Linked DNA regions of Homo sapiens: regions 2 and 3 are each linked to region 1. Evidence: promoter capture Hi-C in human tissues and cell types (Jung and others, 2019). All regions are on one chromosome and are shown on one strand. The core of a region is centred on a gene start or on the middle of the fragment in contact, and the rest is flanking DNA. Distances in the headings are between cores, read along the strand shown.

Region 1 (2,517 bases), core at 13-2,512:
CCGCAAACGATCAAAGGTCTTCAAAGAACCCTTTATCTGTGTCTATGTCTAAACACTCTATGTAATTTGCTTCCGAAAAGAAAAATGTTAACCCACTTTTCCCATCTCTCTTAAAAGCAGAACAATGAGGCCAGCGTGGGGAGGGCGGGGTCAGTGGTCAGGTCTCTCTTGGAAGCCGCGGCGGGGAGTCGGGAGCGGGGAGCGCGGGGCGTGGCGCCGCTGTCCCCGCAGGGTTGGGCTCCTGGGTGTCACGCTGCGCTCCCCACCCGACCCCCTTTCGAATGAAGATGCAGCACCGGGCGGGGGGGCGGGGCTGCGCGGTTCCGCACTGGGTGGGGCTGTCCGCATTGTGCGCCCAGCGCTGCAGGTGCCTCCCCCCGGGACCGCTGGTCCGCACACAAAGAAACCCCACCCCAGCGCCTTCGAAGCCGCTGTCCCTCCACCCCTCCCTGCCGCGCGCTTCCCCGCCCCTGCAGCTGCCCACCCGCGCCCTCCACGCCCTCCGCGACTTCCTCTCTCCTTCCCCTCCCTTGCCCTAAAACAAAGGAGCGGAGGTCCTACCCCCACCCTGTCCCCCGCCGTCTTACCTCCCTGCACCGCACCCCAGGACTAGCGGTTTCTTCGACGAGACAATACCGTAAAATGTGCCCAGTTCTCTCCATCCCCTCCCCCCGTCTCCACCCATCTTTCAAACAGCGGGATGGGACCGCTTTGACTTTGCAATTTTCTTTTTCCTTTCTCCCACCTTCCCTTTACCCCTTTCCTATTTTCTTCTTAAACTAGAGAAGAAATAAAAAAAAAAAAGGTCGTTATAAAGCACTTTCCAAAATGTCCCTTAAGCCCATTTAAGGCAAACAGTTAAGGTAGCTTCCTCCCCTCACGATTGAGTCCTAATTTTAAATATGGAAACAGAATAAATTCTCTACCCATAGGAGGGCAACTTACCCGCTTCTACCTTTTAAAAGAAATTCTTCGCTTTAGATTTCCATAGACCTCTTCTCTGCCCTCCCACCTCCCCCAGAACTGCCCTGTCCTTCCTGGTCCTGTGTTACCATTAACATCTTTTTCTTTATAAAATATCTCTGAATGCTTCTAGAGCTCAAGAGAGGAGGTGAGAGGTGGGCTCCAGGTAGAGCCGACGGAGAACGAGGCGCAGTGCCTTACCCATTGCTGTTTTAGCCATTGTAGGGATGTGCAGACGCTGAGCAGTGGCGAAGGCAAAGGGTCCGGCTACAGCAGCGGAGAGAGCGAGAGAGAAGACTGAATAAGGCACTGAGTCTGCAGAGTGGGACCGTGCTAGAGAAAGAGCAAGAGGCAGGAGCCCATGAATAATTATCACTCAGAAGCTCAAGCAGATTGGCTCCCAAGGTCCCCTGACATGACTCCCGCAGAGTCAGAATCTCCAAGCATTAAATATTGATCGGCCAATGGTGCTGGAGTACAAAGTACCAGAATGCAGTTTGAAATGGAAATCAGTCCTTCCCTGTCGGCTCCCCCCATTTTGGGGGCCTGATAGTACAGTCCAAGTAGAGTGGAGCTTTAAGCCCTGAAGCTTCCTAGGAGCTAAGAACTGGGCTGTGCCTACCTGGGAGCCAGGAGGCTTGACTTTGCTCATACATGTGCCATTGCACAATTCAATGGAAAAGGATTCAGAAGCTTGAGAAGTCCTCACTATATGCAGGCTGTTGGAAAATTCTGTTTAAATACTGTGTTTTCACTTTTTCATATTTTCTTTCACCTTTGGCTCTGTCCTTGGTTCTAGTCTTTCAGGGCTACCCTATGTCTGGCTATGGTGGCAGCTCAGAGCAGACTTGCATTATTGTCCTTTATCTTTTAGCACAGCTGGACTTAGGCGTCTCTAAACTCTTGAAGGTCTCTCAGGAGAGGGAAGCATGGTGTTTTCTTCCCTTGGCACAGAGGAAGGGGCTACCTGGTTGCTTGGGAATAGGGATGGTAATAATGGTCCACCTGGGGACATGGGGGAAGAGGAAGAAAGTTTAACCTCTGGTGCCTGTGTCCTGTCCATTTGTTAACACGGCAGAAAACAGGTTGGCTGGCTGGTTTGGGCATTAAGGAAACCACAGGTGAATGCCATGTTGCCCTGAAGGTGTAGGATTAAGTGGGTCAAAATTTTAGTAACCTTTCCAGGGCTCTAAGGAGAATGCTTTACATGGAAAACTTAGAAGAGATGAAAGGTGTGGTCTGGGTCATTATTTTTCTGAGATCCAGAGAGACTACGTTTATGTAGGCCCAGGAAGGCTGTGTTCAAGTTTCGGATTGAGCAATGTCGTATGTGAGGATCTTTGAGACTAGTTGCAAAAAATGACTTTCATTACAAACAAGGCATTTATTAGTTCCTCCTTCTCACTTAATGGATGCCAGTCATTCATTTGTTCTCTTTCACTTGACTTAAATATGTATTGAGCATTTACCATGTGCACAGCTCTGAAAATGGTGAGAAAAAGTTTAGGAGTTGCTGCATGAAGTTTTTAATTACTGCTAATTTAACTCTTCTGT
Region 2 (2,517 bases), core at 9-2,508, 890 kb after region 1:
TCAAATTCATCCTGCAAGATACATATAATTATACTCAAAGCATACTTCTTAAATTCAGTCTGTGGTTATCTAACACTACGATTGGGTTAAGGAAGATGTCTTGTTTCAGTATATTGAATATTCTTTCCTGTAAAATATGATTTTAACACATCCCCCATTACTACAGCCACTGTAAAAGGAAAGCACAAGTTAGACCAAATTTGGTTGTTGAAGAGTTTTTGAGTGCAAACAGCAGATCCGAGTCTAATCAGTTTAAGCAAATAATAATAATAATAACTAAAAGCTATTGGGAAATGCATAGAATCTCTGGGAGAGCCAGATAGTCAAGTTTGGAGGCTGTTCAGCCAGAAACAATGCCCAAGTTATAATCACCAACTTGGCACTCTTTCTGGCTGAACAGCTCCAAACTTGGAGGGGAGGACAGTCAGTTAAAGTGCTACCATGGGGAACAGGCCACATGTTGCAATAAGGGTGTCACTTCTTGATGCTCTGCCACAGCTACCTTAGAAGCTCTGTGTCTCTCCACTAAACTCCACCATCCTCACTAGGAAATGGAGGCTGCAGTGTCCATTTCATATTATTTGTTTCAGAATCCAAGTCTGTTCAGTAGTTCCCAAGTCACATGAATACTCCCTCGCTGTAAGAAAGTATAGAAAACTATAAATTCTAGCTACAATTTTGATGCAGTGAGAGTTTCACCATGGAAAATTTGCCAAACATATGATTTTCAAAAGGTGCTAGCCACAATGATGACAAATGCCCATTACAGATAATAACAAAATTTAGATTTGAAATACATCACAAATCAAAATAATTTTTCACTAGAAGACAGGAGTTGGGCAGTGTTTTATATTGTCCAATGTTTTCTACTTAAAATATGGTATCTGAGCCAATAAACGATAAGACCTCTTCCTCCTTGAAAATAGCTTTCGGGTAATGACATCAGTGAGAAAAAATCTTTCTACTGATATAAGAGGGAGAAACATGACAGTGTTTACTAAAAGGGAACGGCATGAGAATAGACTGCCTCAGAGAGGGTATAAAGCTACTCTAGCATACAAGTTGCTTATTCAAATGGCGTTTTGATTTCATTGATAGTAAGACATATGGAAAAACCTATTTTTGAATTTTCAAATTAATAGTTAATTGAATAGCATGTTTCCAAAATGAATCACAGTTAAGGAATTAATGTTTAAAATAAAATTTTAAGTTCCTGATGTTTCTTGAAGAGTTTATGAGTTTTCCCTATAAGAAATATAAGTTTGAGAAGATAAGTAAAAATATATATTTTTAAAACTTTCTAGTTCTTAAAATGTTCCCCTTAACAATAATTAGGAGAAAAATAAAACTTTTTTAAAAAATTAAGCTTTAAATAGGCAAATATATGAAAACAGATCTAAATATTTCATACATATGTAGATATACAGAAATGTAAATATATATTCACCCAAGCCCAACAATAGCATGGCAACATACCTCTTAAATATTTAGATTAACTGTTTTTATTCTATGCTCTATGGAGTAAACCTTTGCTTGTATTACCTGGACTCTTAAAATCATAGGTGATAAAAAGAGAAAGAAAAAAGAACCTGTTTTAAAATGTCCTCTTGCTGGTTGGATTCTGAGCTCCTAGCTCTTCCCCATGGCTGACCTTGAGGAGTTGTGGGTTTCTTCACCAGCTCCCAGAACTTCCCTTTTCTTCCTCATCTTCAAACACCTTTTAGCATCTTTCCCACGCAACCAGTGAGTTTGGGCTGGCCAGTTCTGAGCAGGAACAAGGGCCAAATGGTAGACCTGCTGGAGAAAGTGGAGATGCAGATCAGAGATGCAGCATTTTCATTAACCAAATTTCTTGAGGTCACATCTGCAGTACCAGCTCAAGTGGAATAGCTTGTCTTCCAATGTACAGAAAATGCATGTTTCCTTAAAACCTGGCAGGACCTCTTGAAACAAGGCTATGATTCTTTGAAACCTGATGACTGATTTGGCATGCTTAGTTATTAATGATTGTGTAATAACTCATACTTCCTCATATATGATATTTGCATATGTACTACATGTATAGAATGATCTCTTCCCAGCAGTTCTGTATATACTCAGAATGAAATTTTTCTTGGTTTTCTTGGCCTTTGTGAAAGCAGAAGGCTGACGCTATTTTTGTTGCTGACCAGTACTTGTTTATCCATTAATATTTTCTGCCCTCTAAACTTTTGTATAATCCTTTATGAAAGTTAATTTCATCAGTATATAGTTAATATTAATAGTGCCAAAGTGCTACCAGTGGCAAACTAGGTAGATCGTTATTTATTTTCAACAAGATGCCAAGCATGTCAGAGTTTGAAGTTGAGCTTCAGCTTAAGTACAAACGGAGGTAATTTTAAGGTTGCCAGTGATAGATCCAGTTCCATTAGGTTTAGTTCTCTAGGGCTAATGATTGTTTCTGATTTATTTCTATATCCCTAGCACCTAAAACAGTGTCACACAATAGTCACTAAATGTTTATTGAATAAAAGAGTC
Region 3 (2,517 bases), core at 5-2,504, 650 kb before region 1:
TTATTTTATCTGTCATAAGCATGCAAATATCTCTCTATAGTTTGTAGCTTGTCTTCTAACATTTTTCTTGGTGTTATTTCTTGTTAAGTTGTATAATTATTTATTGCTTTAAAAGCTTTAAAAAGGCAAGTAAAGCACAACATTAGAATTAATTAATTCTTTCTTTCTTTCTTTCTTTTTCTTTTTGAGACAGAGTCTCACTCTGTCCCCCAGGCTGGAATGTAGTGGCGCGATCTCAGATCACTGCAACCTCCACCTCCCAGGTTCAAGCGATTCTCCTGCCTCAGCCTCCCAAGTAGTTGGGATTACAGCTGTGTGCCACCACATCCAGCTAATGCTTTTGTATTTTCAGTAGAGACAGGGTTTCACCATGTTGGCCAGGCTAGTCTTGAACTCCTGACCTCAAGTGATCTGTCTGCCTTGGCCTCCCAAAGTGCTGGGATTATTGGCGTAAGCCACTGTGCCCAGCCTCTTTTCTTTCTTTTCTTCTTCTTCTTTTTTTGTTTTTTCTTTGAGACAGGGTTTCTGTCTTGTCACCCAGGCTAGAGTGCAGTGGCATGACTTTGGCTCACTGCAACCTCTGTCTCTTGCCATAGCCTCCTGAGTAGCTGGGACTACTGGCATGCACCACTGCACCTAGCTAATTTTTGTATTTTTGTAGAGACGGGATTTCACTATGTTGCCCAGGCCAGTCTCGAACTCCTAAGCTCATGTGATCTGCTCATCTCAGCCTCCCAAAGTGTTGGAATTACAGGCGTGAGCTGCCACATCCAGTCAGCATTTGTTTTCAAAAACTAAAAATGGATATTTAACTGGCAAATGAGTTGTTATGTTGTTAATTATTCTTTAATGTATTTTGTGATATTTCATAAAACAAAAATAAAAAACACCAAAGAAAGGTTTGATCCTCTTTCCCCTTTTCTCAGGCCCCAGAGCACAGCTACCCACGAAAACCCCCTTCTCTTAAACCTTCTTTAGTGAAGGCTATTGAACACAGGAGAAGAAAGCTGCATCTAAAAATGACTTGGAATTCTGGGGACATTCTTGGCTGAGACACCCAATCACAGGAACAGCCCCAGGCCTGGTTGTGAAAGAGGCTACTTGTCTCTGGGCGCCTCCATTCCTGAACCCCTACCCTGTCCTTTCAACATCTTCTCCCCCAGGCACCTGGCAGTCTCCTGGGACTCCCAAAGTCACCTCCCCCAGCACCAGACACACAGGAAATCCACAAAGGGAAGAGACTTACTGGAAGTAGGCTCAACCCCATAAAGATTTACTTTTTTTTTTTTAAGGATTTACATTTTGCAAGTATTTAGGGAGTGGGCAAAGAAAGACTAAAGAAACAGCCAAAGCTCCTGCGGGAGGGGTCTTTCTAAATAAAGCCTTCACAGAATGGCCAGGGGACTCCTCAGGAGGTCCTAACACTTCAAGACCCCATCTTGTTCAACATCGGAGCCCCAGTGGCAAGCCATTGCTTGGTAGGCACCATATATGTGTTGAATGAATTAAATGACTTGTTTTGTTCTGTGCCAGGCAGTGTGTGAGTCATTGGGAATATGTCAGTAAAGAAAACAGACAAAAATTCCTGTCCTCTGGGAACTGTTTCTCATCTATGTATGGAGGTGGGGGAAGGAGGATGAGGGTGCTGAGGACTATCAACGAAATAAGTACATTTCTATTAAATTGATATTATACAGTAAGTACTTTGGGAAGAAAAGAAAGAAAGGAAGGAAGAAAGAGAGAGAGAGGAAGGAAGGAAGGCCGGCCAGAATTTGCAAGTGAAGGAGTGGAGGAGTGAGCTTTGAGGCTACATAGGGAACAGGGACAGCAAGGTGATGAATTCCCCTCACCCTTCAACATTTCTTGTCATTTCAAGACCAAATCTTTCAAGTTCTAAGAATACATTATGTGAAACCCTTCTCTACAAGAAGTACAAAAATTAGCTGGGCATGGTGGTGTGTGTCTGTAGTCCCAGTTACTCAGGAGGCTGAGGTGGGAGGATTACCTGAGCCCAGGGAGGTCAAGGCTGTGGTGAGCTATGATTGTGCCACTGTACTCCAGCCTGGGCAACAGAGTGAGACCCTGCCTCAAAAAAATAAAAAACATTATGCTGTTTCTCGCTTCAGTAGTTTGCATATACTGTTCCCTTTGCCTGATATTTACCTCCTGTCTTTTCCACCTGGCCAATTCCTATGTGTCCTTCAAGATCCATTTCAGATGCCACCCTCTCAGTGCCTGGAGGGAGAGGTAAATTGTTACTACCTTTGTACTCCCATAATACTTTGTTGACTTCTTACTAGAAGCTCTCAGTACCTCTCCTGAGTCACATGTGTTTGTAGAACTCTTACAACAAAGGTAAGCTATTACTATCATCACAGCTTTTAGACATATGAGAAAACAGGTTGTAACAAGTTAAGTAACTTGTCTCAGGTCATCGGCTGGATTTGGAAGGCTGGACTTTAAGGTCAACAACCCAGGCTCCAAAACAGAGCCCTTCCTATGATTCCAGGAGCCCCA

What was found. The method cuts DNA at HindIII sites, captures the fragments that hold promoters and counts their contacts. A contact is called where the count stands out against the background at its distance.
Region 2: a contact is called between a fragment that was not itself captured here and the fragment with the promoter of STMN2 in region 1, in 1 of the 25 tissues and cell types used here (dorsolateral prefrontal cortex).
Region 3: a contact is called between a fragment that was not itself captured here and the fragment with the promoter of STMN2 in region 1, in 1 of the 25 tissues and cell types used here (lymphoblastoid cells).

What each region holds. Positions count from the first base shown.
Region 1 is chr8:79,609,862-79,612,378 of GRCh38, reverse strand. STMN2 (stathmin 2) reads right to left here and starts at 1,262. Exons shown (of 5, transcript NM_007029.4): 1 at 1,165-1,262. The coding sequence starts at 1,183. The HindIII fragment of the contact is 1,951 bases long and covers 774-2,517 here.
Region 2 is chr8:78,723,262-78,725,778 of GRCh38, reverse strand. It overlaps a transcript of IL7 not described here and the pseudogene C4orf46P3. Among named protein-coding and RNA genes, the nearest start is that of ZC2HC1A, 58 kb to the right of the region's middle. The HindIII fragment of the contact is 3,622 bases long and covers 1-2,517 here.
Region 3 is chr8:80,257,270-80,259,786 of GRCh38, reverse strand. No RefSeq gene overlaps it. Among named protein-coding and RNA genes, the nearest start is that of MIR5708, 17 kb to the right of the region's middle. The HindIII fragment of the contact is 4,365 bases long and covers 1-2,517 here.